Regions from separate parts of the Homo sapiens genome. Here region 1 is linked to region 2. Evidence: promoter capture Hi-C in 16 types of primary human blood cells and fetal thymus (Javierre and others, 2016). All regions are on one chromosome and are shown on one strand. Each heading gives the region's core, a stretch centred on a gene start or on the middle of the fragment in contact. The rest is flanking DNA. Distances are from core to core; before and after follow the strand shown.

Evidence for each region. Contacts are between HindIII fragments. The CHiCAGO score rates a contact against its expected background, and 5 or more counts as called.
Region 1: a contact is called between a fragment that was not itself captured here and the fragment with the promoter of CD58 in region 2, in 5 of 17 cell types (M2 macrophages, megakaryocytes, activated CD4 T cells and 2 more). The highest score is 8.2, in M2 macrophages.

What each region holds. Positions count from the first base shown.
Region 1 is chr1:116,823,829-116,829,917 of GRCh38, forward strand. No RefSeq gene overlaps it. Among named protein-coding and RNA genes, the nearest start is that of CD2, 72 kb to the left of the region's middle. RefSeq lists an enhancer at 3,564-3,753. The HindIII fragment of the contact is 2,060 bases long and covers 3,240-5,299 here.
Region 2 is chr1:116,569,372-116,575,779 of GRCh38, forward strand. CD58 (CD58 molecule) reads right to left here and starts at 1,655. Exons shown (of 6, transcript NM_001779.3): 1 at 1,532-1,655. The coding sequence starts at 1,601. LOC124904385 (a long non-coding RNA gene) reads left to right here and starts at 1,604. Exons shown (of 2, transcript XR_007066497.1): 1 at 1,604-1,682; 2 at 4,443-5,379. It overlaps IGSF3 (immunoglobulin superfamily member 3), which reads right to left. Exons shown (of 11, transcript NM_001007237.3): 11 at 5,037-6,408. RefSeq lists enhancers at 727-786, 4,670-4,959 and silencers at 1,257-1,326, 1,397-1,856. The HindIII fragment of the contact is 6,609 bases long and covers 1-3,893 here.

The DNA of each region.
Region 1 (6,089 bases), core at 3,020-5,519, 260 kb after region 2:
TGTTCTTTGGTCAGATAGAGTTTGAAATCTCTTCTTGCCACATTTTAAGAGGCACATTAACAAACTGGAGCATCTGCTTTTATTGAAATTGTGCTTTGGAGTTAAGCCCTAGATCTACAATGAGAGATGACTTTAAAAGAAACAATTTGAGTAAATGTGGTATTGAATTTATCATAAGGAAATTGTTAGATGCATTCTTCTCTGGGAGAACCCAGGAGAAAATTTTCTTTTCTGTTCATGTCCAGGGATAGCTACGTTTCCTGTTTGCTTTTATGAAGACTGAATTGTACAACTGCCCCTGTTTCCCTTTTGGCTCTGGCTGCCAGTAAGTTCAAAAGGCAAATTTAGAGCCTAATACCTAGCCAGGTTTAGAGATCTGTATGGCATGTGTTTGTACACTACACTTACCTTGGGTTAATATTTCCTGCACTTATTTCTCTACGCTAATATTTCCTCCATTACTTTTATAATCCTGCTGTATCATTTACGCTTTTGCAAGCTCCTTCAAGTCTCCTTTGGGATACATTGGGGATATGAATGAATAAACACCAAAAATAACCAAGTAAAAAATGGATGCATATTCAGAGGAGAGCAACTGGGGAGAGAAGTGATGAGGAAATTGTTCCCTAGAGATGTGGCTGAAGGAACCGGAACTACTGAGAAAGCAGAAGACTGATTGGGGAATGAGAGTAATCCTACACACATTGACAGGCCTATCATACTGGAAACAGATTAAATATATTCGGTATGACTCTAAGTAAAATCAGTGAATGTTAGAGAGTGAGTTGTGTTTATTTTCTTTATATAAAAGAAAAAGTTGCTAACAATTTGAGCTGCCCAAAATTAGAATGGCTGCATTGTGAGGAACTGCACTCCTGTTTGTGGAAGTGCTTATGTTGAAGCCGGATGGCCACCTGTCAAGGATGTGAAAGATGGGATTCCTGAAGGATCCCGGAAGTCTCTCCTGACTGTGAGTCAACATTCTGTGAAATGGAGGCTGAGGTGTGGGAAGAAGACACCTGCTGAGGGAAGGGGGTTTGGCCAAGAACCTTGCCCTTGTGGAAGGGGATTCAGGGAGACAAAGGCCTCTAGAGAAAGAGAGGTCTCCTCCCAGGGAGAGCTGTCCTCCTGCCCATGGAGATGTTCTTCCAAGCACAATTCCCACACTGGAAACAGCACAAAGAGAAATCTGGGACACAGACATGAGCACTGAGAAGCACAGGCCTCCAACCGGCCTTCCTGTTCTCCGTAGTCCCCTCAATCAGGGGACAGGAAAGTGGCACTCTCAATTCCCTAGAGGTCTTTTATATTCCCTTTCCTGGGTTCAAATTCCATCCTTGCCTCCGATTGGCTAACAATTACCTCATTGTCTTTTCACTTGCTTAGAAAATCACATCTGCCTTCTCCACCCCCTTTCCTCCTTTCCCAATGCCTCTTACTCCAAAATGACAGCATCTTCCCCTTGTTGTGTATTCCTGCCCTCAAGTTCACAACTCCCCATTGTCTTCGACCTGATGTCCCAGGGCTTTCAGCTTCTCTTTCCTGACTGCATTAGCCATGCAGATTTATGCAGTGCTTCTCTCAGTCCTCAGCCATCTTCCCTGCTATGTTAATATTCAATGTTTTCCTTTCCCTCAACTCTGTTTTTAGCAGATCTTATTCCAAACTGCCTCAGAGCCACTCCCAGCTCGGTGGGGGCAGCTGGGTGTGGTGAGCACAGGACACTCCTTTGGACAGATGGACGGGCGGAGGGGCAGGAAAACACCCCCAGCCCCGGCTCAGCTGCTGAGTGATTTAGCCAAGAGTAGGAGGGGAGGAATGAGACAGCTCCACCAGCCCAGGCTAAAAACAGACCTGGCCTCCTCCAAATGTTCCACAGATTAGGACCCTCTTCCTCCCTTCTCCATTCCTACCGTCTCTCCAAACCTCAAATCCTGCAGCCACTGTGTAGCTTCTTTCCCCGTCAAGGCCACTCAGGATGTTGATCTTAATTTGATTTTGACAGACACAAAGAAGAGGAGGGGGACGGAGTCCACAGTGTGATCTGTCCTCCCCTCTTCTCCCACCTCTCAGGGTGGCCAGGGCCCAGCCAGCAGGACCTACAGCTTTGGTATAATTTACAGCCTGAGACTCAGAAGATGGGAACACAGCCAAGGCCATAAACTCTGTTCCGAGTGCTGTGTGACAGTTTATGGTAAAGGGCAGATGGGACTTGCTGGCTCCAGGCCTGCCCCTTCATTACAGAGCACCCTTCTGCCGCTCCTGTCACCAGCAGGCGGTGGTGACGTGCTGAATGGCAAATGGGAAGCAGACCTGGGTCCTCAAACTTGGTTCCTGTGTCCTGGGATCCCCACACACCCTGGCCATCACATACCCAGATCCCAACACACCTAGCTCCCCGCACACTTAGCTCCCCACACACCCTGGCCCTCACACACCCCATATACCCAGGTCCCTACACATCCTGGTCCTCACACACCCCACACACCCAGGTCCCTACACACCCTGGCCTTCACACACCAAGGCCCTCACACACGCAGATCCTCACACACCCAGGTCATCGCACACCCAGGCCCTTGCACACCCTGGTCCTCTCAGACCCTGGTCCTCGAACACCCAGGTCCTTGCATCTTCTGGTCCTCCTATGTGGGCCTGTGAGGCACACGCACAGAGAATAGAGTGTCACAGAGTAGGCACATTAACCCATAGCAAAGGTGGGCCGTCAGGAAGGGGTGGAGGTGCTTCCCTGACTCCCATTCTGTCTACTGAGAAATGGTATGCAAATGAACTTCAGGAGCAGCTTTGAGGGAAAAGGACCACAAAATAAGTCACTTGAAGAGGGTATGAAGAGGAAGAGGGGCAGGCACTTGTTTATGCAAGTATAATCCAAATGTAAGGTCTGTACCAGCATTTGTCTAAACAACTCTGTCACTGTCTTATTTTAAAACAAGGGATGGAACCTATCCTAGCCTCCTTTGACTACAGGAAACTTGTTTTTCCCTCACATTTCACCCCATGTATTTCTGAGGTAACTCCCATCCCTCGAAGTCTTCCCTGGTTGGCCCAGCCCCCTTGGCCGGGCCCTGTCTCCAGCCACAGCTTACTCCACTGCAGTCCTTCAACCACACTTGGGAGCAGCTTTCTTCTGACTCTCTCAAGCTGGCCACAGGTCCTTCCCTCCATTCCCCACCATGACAGCAAAAACCAAACTGTTAATCTTTAACAAGATTCGTACCTAAAGCTTAGGTTAAGGGTATTACAACACAGCCACAAAAATAGCATAAACCTTCATGTCAGAGAGAGGAGAAGACAGAATCTGCAATCCTCGCCTGCTTATAGAATGCCATCCTGTCCACCTCCCAGCCTGTTCACTCAGGAAGAAGCCAACCTTTCTCTCCCCATGTCTGAGCTCTGCAATCACTTACAGCCTACGTAGAGCCTCTCACCCCAGCACCCCTGCACAAAGCCCTGAGCTCCACTTCTTAAGGCTCATGGAAAGGAAACTGCAACTCTTCTTGTCCCTCTTAGGCCTCATTTCCTGTCTCAGGCATTATCTCTTCCAAGGGTGATTGACAGTGGGATGGTTCACTCACTTCAGAACCACGAGGATGACTCATCCAACGTCCTGGCCTCTGGTTTCCTCCATCTGTTCACCTCCAGCAACCTTTTCCTTCACTTCGTCTCAGCCACCGATACCTGTAATCAGCTTAGACTTTGTCATCACCAAGAAGAACACCAGCTCTGAAATTTCCCTCTCAGAAATCCCCACTAGACCATGAAAAGACATGGAGGGACTGTAAATGAAAGAAGCCAACCTGAAAAGGCTACATGCTGTATAATTCCAACTAAATGGCACTGGAAGAGACAAAACTATGGAGATTAAAAGGAAAGGTGTTTGCCAGAGGTTTGGGAGAAGGGAGGGATGAAGAGGTTGAGTATAAAGTATTTTTAGGGCAGTGAAACGATATTGTGTGATACCCTACTGGAGTATACATGTCATTATACCTTTGTCAGGACCCACAGAATATACAACACCAAGGGTGAACCCTAATGTGAACTATGGACTTTGGGTGTGTCTTACCTGGGCTGGGTAATTTACAAAGAGGTTTATTTGGCTCAGAGCTCTGTAGGCTGTACAGGAAGCATGGCGCCAACATCTGCTTATAATGAGGGCCTCAGGCTGCTTCCACTCATGGTAGAAGGCAAAGGGGAGCCAGCTCATGCAGAGATTATATGGCAAGAAAGAAAGATGAGTTGCCATCTCTCATTTTTAGCAACCAGCTCTCACTAGAACTAATAAAGCAAGAACTTACTTATTTCCATGAGGACGGCACCACAGCCTTCATGAGGGATTCACCCATGATCCAAACACCTCCCACTAGGCCCCACCTCCAGCATTGGGGATCAGATTTCAGCATGAGATGTGGAGGGGACAAATGTCCAACCTGTATCAAGGTGATAATGATGTGTCAATGGAGGTTCATCTGGAGGTTCTTCACTTGTAACAAATGTACCACTCTGGTGGGGTGTGTTGATAGCAGGGTTGGTTGTGCACATATGAGGGCAGAGGGTATATGGGAAAGCTCTGTACTTTCTGTTCAGTTTTGCTGTGGATCTAAAACTCTAAAAAACAAAGTAGACTTTAAAAAAAATCTCAACTAATTTCCTGTCCTTCTCTTCCACTTGCTCTAGTGCCCTTTTGGCTGTGACTCTTTAATTACATTGAGACACATCATGTGTCACTCTTTAGCAGGCCTCTTGTCTTCACTGCATTCCTGATCCGACTTACAGCCCAAAGCCCACCCTGATAAACACTACCTCACAAATACCCTCCATTTCCTCATCCTTTCTCTTTTGGCAAAAACCTCTCTCTGACAACCTCAATAACTGTTTTTCCTTGCCTGTATCCAATGTGCCTAAATAAAATATTTCTTTTTTTTTTTTTTGAGACAGAGTCTCACTCTGTCACCCAGGCTGGAGTGCGGTGGCGCGATCTCAGCTCACGGCAATCTCTGCCTCCGGGTTCAAGCGATTCTCCTGTCTCCCAAGTAGCTGGGATTACAGGCGCACACCACGACACCCAGCTAATTTTTTTGTATTTTTAGTAGAGACAGGGTTTCACCATGTTGGTCAGGCTGGTCTCGAACTCCTGTTCCGCTCACCTCGGCCCCCCAAAGTGCTGGGATTACAGGCGTGAGCCACCGCACCTGGCCAGATAAAATATTTCTAAAGAAAATCTTATGCCAGGCTGACCCTCACACTTTGAATTCATGACCAGAAGCCTGACCAGAGTGCTCAAAGCTTCCCTCAACACTGACCGTTTCCCACTCTCTGGAGTAACTAACTCATATCTTCTTGTTCTTACTTTAGACTTTCTACATTTTCTGCCACTGCACCCTCTTCAGCAGGTGAACTCACCTCTTACTACATGGAAAAAATAGAAGGTTTCAAATAGGAATGGTCTCATCTTCCCATCACCAAATCTAGAATCCAGCCTGCATTCCCACGTACCTCCTCTTCTTCAGGCCAGGTAAGTAGGTCGAAGTGTCCTTGCCATAATCAAAGCCTCACCCTTGGTTTGAAGTGTAGACCTCAGTCTTTTTTGCTCCTCCTTGTGGACATGGCCCCTGCAGAGATCCGTGATACCTCCTGCATCACCAAGCTCTTGCTTTACTGGGTCATTTGCATCACTTTACAAACATACTCATCTTTAAGAAGAAAAAAGACATGAAAAGAGATGTTCAACATCATTAATCATTAGAGAAATGATTAGTGGCACGATCTTGGCTCACTACAACCTCCACCTCCTGGGTTCAAGCAATTCTCCTGCCTCAGCCTCCCAAGTAGCTGGGATTACAGGCACCCGCCACCATGCCCAACTAATTTTTTATATTTTTAGTAGACAGGAGGTTTCACCATGTTGGCCAGGCTGGTCTCGAACTCCTGATCTCAAGTGATCCGCCTGCCTTAGCCTCCCAAAGTGCTAGGATTACAGGCGTGAGCCACCATGCCTGGCCTTCCTTCCCTTCATTTCTAATTTCAACTCTTCTTTCTCTCCCTTCCACATAGACACCCATTCAAATATGTTT
Region 2 (6,408 bases), core at 405-2,904:
GGTCCTGATCCTGTAAGGCCCAGGAGAAGCTCTCTCAGCTCAGAGAATCCAGACTCCCTAAGGGGACACTCAGCAATCTTTTCCCACATTATCACATGTCCACACATCACCAGTCCTTGAAGGCTGGGCTCAAATATCCTCCCTCCCATGAAGACTGCTTCACAAAAGACACTTGATTTCACAAAAGAGACTGCCTTCTTCTTCCCTCTGTACCCTCACAGCTCACCTTTTTTTTTTTTTTTTTTTTTTGAGACAGGTCATATTCTGTCACCCAGGCTGGAGTTCAGTGGCACAATCACAGCTCACTGCATCCTCTGCCTCCGGGACTCAGGTGATTCTCCCACCTCAGCCTTCCGAGTAGCTGGGACTATAGGTATGCGCCACCACGCTCAGCTAATTTTTGTATTTTTTGTAGAGCCGATCTTTCACCGTGTTGGCCCTGCTGGTCTCCGATTCCTGGCCTCAAGTGATCCACCTGCCTCAGCCTCCCAAAGTGCTAGGATGACAGGTGTAAGCCACCACGCCCAGCCCAGGCCTCTTACAACACTGACTTATCTGATCGTGCGGGTACTTTTGAGTCTATCTCAACCCCTCCCCCTTGGCTGTCTTCCATAGATGCACACGCGCACCTCCCGGGCAGGCAGCGGACGCTGAGCAAACGGACGGACGGGCTGGAGGGCTGGCAGTGGGGTGCAGGAGCCAGCCATGAGAACCCCTCAAGTACAGTTGAACTCGCTGGGAGGTTACTGCTGTACTCCCGGGGTTTTGCTATGGCCTGACTGGGGCCAATGTGTGGAGGGTGAAGGAGGATGGGGAGGCAAAATGGGAAGAAGGGGACCTATTTCCTGAGGTTGTTGTGACGACTTGGCTGACAACACACGGAGAGGATGGAACCAGTTCTGATACTAGTTTTTAGGATTTGAGGGGAGGAAAAAGGAGCAGGAGTCGCACCACTTAGGAATCCCAACGTGAGGCCGCTGCCGACTGGGCTTCCTAGTTGCCTACCCGCTCCTCGCTGTGGGGCGATTCTGAAAAGTCCTCTCTGCTGATACGGCGGACGCCGCGCGGGCGGGGACGGCACCGCGCGGGGAGGGCAGCAGGCGTCGCCCTCGAGCAGGTGGCATCCGCGCCCGCTCCCCGTCCCGGGCGCGTTCACGGCTGGGAAAAATTTTGCAGTCCGCTGAAGCGCTCAGCGACGTTACTGGGGAAGCCCAGGAAGGAACTTGGTCACTGGAGCTCGGGAGGGGGCCGGCGGGGGGGCGCAGGCCCCGCAGGAGAGGCTAGCGGGCCGGAGCCCGTCCTTCCCTAAGGCCACACAGTTCCTTGCTGACTCCATGAGGGACACTGGCGATGAAATAACAACTTTCTCTTCCTGAAAAGGCTCCCACGGCTGAGTTGTTCCCGGCCCACAGCGACCCGTCCCCACCCGTCTCTGATCGGCAACCGCCTCGAGCCCGGCGCGTCCACCCAGCCTGGGTGCTGCCCAGTACCCGCCGGCCGGCGCGGGGCCCCTGGGGCAGGCTTCACTCACCAAAGCAGTGCAGCAGGCAGACCACGCTGAGGACCCCCAGGGCCCGCCCCGCGTCGCTCCCAGCAACCATGGCTCGTCGGGCCGGCCTCTGCGCGAGTGCCCAGCCACAAGCAGCCCTAAGTTCAAGCACCGCCTACGCGGTCGGCCAGAAGTAGGGCTCCGCCCCGCCCTGGGCTGGCAGCCGGCGGCCCGCCCCGGCCCTTCCTCCCCCACCCTCCGCGGCGCCGCGTTTGTCTTCGCGCTTCCACTCCCCGGGCGCGCCTCTGGCCTCGGCTCTGCGCGCCTCCTTCCTGTGTCCCCGGGGCGCCGTCCAGTCCCCCAGCTCGGTCCCTCCCGTCATTCCGCCGCCATTCCATACGCTATTTTTAAGTAAGAAATTCTTTCCTTGAAAATGGCTTGGTTTTAAAAACCAAGGTTTTAAAGTAAGAAATTCTTTCCTTGAAAATGGCTTGGTTTTAAAAACCAGGTTTCTCTGCCTTCCTACCGCACCTCCCGCGCTTCCCCTTAGCGTTTGGGGCGTGCTGTAGGCCCCTCCGTGGCTAGACGGGGCTGTGGCTCCCAGAGAGCCACCGGAGGAGGCAGCAGGACGGGCGGGAGCACCCGGGGCCCCTCATCCCTTCAGCGCTGTGTGATCCCGCATCAGACGGCCTCTTTGAACCACTTTTCCTCAAACATGACAAGGAAAGGGAGCATTTTAGACAACTGTTAGGCGTAGGGTTACCTGAGGCAGGCCTCCCCCGTCCCCATACTCCCTTATCCCCGGAGCTGGGATTTCCAGCCTTTGGTTTCTCCCTTCTCAGATTCCTCTTTTTCTGTCTTCCCCCATCTCAACCGGGACTTTCCCTCAGGCTGAGATGTCAGATCCACATCTCCCTCACTGCCCAGCCTCCCCACATCCATCCAGCCCAAGCTGAGGCAGGCACTCATCACTCTCCCCGCTCTTCATCAGTCTGGATTGAGCTGGCCCTCCCCTCACATCCCTATATCCCAGAACAAATGACCCTATTCCCAGAACCAGCTCCTCACATCAGCCTCCCTGTCTGTCCCCTTTCTTGCAGACAGAAGCACCAGAGTTGCCCCTGCCCAGCTGAGGGAGTTCACAGAACTCTTAGTTATTATGTGAGCAGGAATCCATTTCCATGAACAGGACTCCCTGCTGCCCAAATAACCACCAACACATACATGGTGCAGGTTGTGAAACTGAGTGGGAATGTGCTTTCTTGCTGCTTCACCTCCATTATCCCCAGGTGGGGACTCGAAGTCACTCAAGACACTTGAACCATATTGCAAAGAGACATGAATTATTTCTTAAGTTAGCCATAAAATCTTAAAAGGTATCTCTATCAGTGAAACTTCTGGGACCAATGCCCTCTACCACAAACCTGCTATCTCGAGATATTCCCTACCATCTGTAGATACTGGGAACACAAGGCAGGGGCAGTGTGTAACATAAAATATGAGGAAATCAAGTGTTCTCTGCCCTGGGCTGGTAGGAACTCAGGCCAACTTAGAAAGGCAGGATGGGGTTAGACCTTCAGACACTGGGGAGCCACAGAAAGTTTTTGAGCTGGGAAGTGATATGACAGCAAACATCTATTGAGCAGGCCCTGTGTGAAGTGCATTGCTTGGATTAACTTAGTCTTACTGCTGCTGTTGTTTTTGCAAATGAGGAAACTGATGCCTGGGGAAGGTAAATTACTCAGGGCACACAGTAAAGGGCAGAACTTGGAGTCCAGCTGAGGCCATGTCCAATGCCTCTACTCTTATCCCTTCATACAGGAACGGGATATGATAATGGGACTTTTGGACTGACAGCTATGCAGCCATTTGGACTGCCAGCAAGAGCTGTTAAGCCCCTTAAGAGCAGGGCTGAGGAAAGAACAGCCCAGTCACATGGGGCTGGGGAAGCCCCTCACCCCCAGGTCATGGTCTCCAGGTATTGGGTGAGGAATAACTCATTAGGCTTCCTTGGTTGGACTCTCCTTTGACCAAGGAGCAGTGCCTGCTCTTTCATTGAGAGAAATGCTGTCCATCAAGCACTTTTAGAAGCCCTCAAATGCCTGGTTAATTTTATGAATCAAAAGCAGCTCAGGAATGCTGGACCTGCAATGCGTTAAGCAGGCAGCCAAAAAGATTCCCTTTACATACTGAGAACCTGCTATCAAAAGGAGGGGTGGATGTATTTTTCATGCTGTGACTAGTATTGCAAGGTCCAGTTTTATCTTCTTGTCACTGTAGATAATCATGGATGAGAAAGTAAGAAAAGAGGGCAGCTGAAGAGGCCGGGGCTGTTCTTCCTAGCATGCCACTCTCTGGTGTCTTGACTCTCGTTTCTGCCAAACCTTTGGAACTACTCCCACAAAGCTTAGGAATCCCAGAATGTAGTGAGCAAAACACTGCTCAATCCTGCATAAATGCAAATTGTCATTTTCATTGCATGCCTCATGAGGGAACATACATTCATTTATATAAATACTGGTTGGATTTGCACGAAGGACATAGAAGGGTAATCTTATTCCATAATACTCTATTTCCCTTTTTAAAACATACCCTGGCAGAAAAAGAACATTAGAAAAAAATTAGGAAAAATTATACATAAGACTTAACATGGAACCATTATGGGTACCCAAGGGAGAGGCAGTCACATTTTCAACTCCTGGCCAAGCCAGCAGCTGCAAGGAGTTGATAAGGATGCAGCCAATGGTTCTGGGAGCAGAGGAAAGCACACACGAAAGCTTTTGAAAGTCTTGGATTTAGAAAAAGAAGAAAAAAAGAAGTGTCTCCCTCTGCTTCTTACTATCTAGTTCCTTTTTGCATATTCTATGAATTTTAAAGAATTATAGATGGGTTCTGACTAATCACGTATCACTGCTATGGTTTTAATCATTCTAACATTCTTCTCAATTTGCAGATGTAAACCCCTCCCAACACTGGAAGAGGAAACAGAGACCAGTGCGCTGTGCAGTCTCACTTAACTAGAATGCACAACTCCTGCTTTTATCACCATTCTGGGAAATCCCCGCTGCATTTCATGGCCAGGGCAGCACTTCATAGTTGGAAAAGGATGGTGTGGACTTGCCGCAGAGGCCCTAGAGAAGGCCATCCTGTGTTCCTGCTCTCCTTCTCATCCGGCTTCTACCCCCACCCCACCCCCCAACAAAAACGCTACAGGTTATAAGATCTACATTCTGAACCTGGCTTTCAGGGGCTAGGTGTGTTGTGTGTTGCACAGCTCTAGAGGTAGCATAGCCTTGATCATCGGGGTGGAGGTGTCTATTTACTATATGTTGCAGCAGATGGCAGTGAAGTGTCTTGAGGAAGAGGTGTTTTTATCATTTGAAGGTTATGGGGTGTAATAATAAAGACTGCAATTCACAGACCTTGAGCCTAGCAGGCCAATGCCAAGGGCAGAACTGTAGGCTCCCACAGCACAGTTCCACAGAGGAAGGGGGCTGGTTAGTAAGGGGAAAGAAGGATAGAAGACTGCAGTAAATGTAAACAGCCGTATTTTCAACATAATTTACTACAGGTCTCTGAAGTGTATATAAAATGTTTTAGTGCAACATCTTACAAATAGTTTTCCTTTAAAAAAACAGAAACAAATCAACAGCTCTCTACATCATGCATGGGTAGTTTTCTTACCCCATCTTTTTTTTTCCTCAATAATTAACGCAGAGAAACCATTGTTTGAAAAGAATATGAAAACTTGCTACAGAAACACCCGGTGAAAGAGGGTGTGGTCATATTCATGTCCTAGAATGCGCCTAGCACAGTGTAGTTTTTCATAAATGCAACATTGTAGACATAGATGAATCCAGAGTATTCAGCAGTTTTCCTCCGTCTCAGAAGACTAAAGCTCCAGTAGACAATGCGCAATGAGGTCTCACAGCCACTGGAGGGCACCATTACCATCCATCTGACATCGCATTTCCATAGAAATGGCCAAAGAAAGAAGGTCCTGGGGTTTTTCATAGAAAGCTCAAAAAGTTCAACCTTTGATGCTATCCCCCAGCCCAATACAAAATACACAGAAAAAGCAATTATTAAAATACTGGCTTCGGTTTCTTTTTTTCCTTTCAAATTTCCTACAATTGCTTTACATATTTGTGTGCAGCACCTACTTCTTTATCGCCGTGAACTGAAATCTAAGATTTCAAACTGAAATCTTAGTTACACATCCTAGTCCCAGCCAGCGCTCTGGCAACCTCCCATTTAGACAGAGGAAACGCCAGTCATCTTCCCTCATTGACTCAGCCTATAAAGTAGGAGTCAGCAAATTCCCACTGAAAGCCCACATCTCTGAAATAAAGAAATGGGGCAAAAGACCTTCTTTTTTCATGACTGAGCCGCTCCTGTACCTCTAATGTGTTGATGCAGCATAATAAATGAGAATCAGCATGTCAGGCAACAGCAGGATTAAGGTGGTGGTGCCTGCACACACTGTCTCACAGGAGGGTACGGTATACTTGGGGGAGAAAAGGCAGGTCTGTGTGTCTGTCAGAAAATGGCTGAGCAATCGCCACCATGCTCCCCTCAGCTGGGAATCAGCAAAGTATCTGCCGAGCAGCCCAGGCCACCTGCATACCTGCAGACCCTTGAAGGATCAGCACAGACACTGGCCTGGGGAATCCCATGGCCTCCCCTGCAGTCTGCTCGTTCTCAGAACAGGGCTTCACTGGAATCTTTTATCAGACTTAGTTCCAGAATCCCTGATGACTTTTTCCAAACTGTGACCCCCTCTTGGGATTCAGGATGTAAGTTCCCAGAGTAAAGGAGATGGCATGCTTGGCCAGAAAAATATGGGAAAGCAAGGGTATAAGAACATCTTCATAAAGGGAGCAAAAGGAAATATTTGCAATTGATGATGCCCTAAGAAG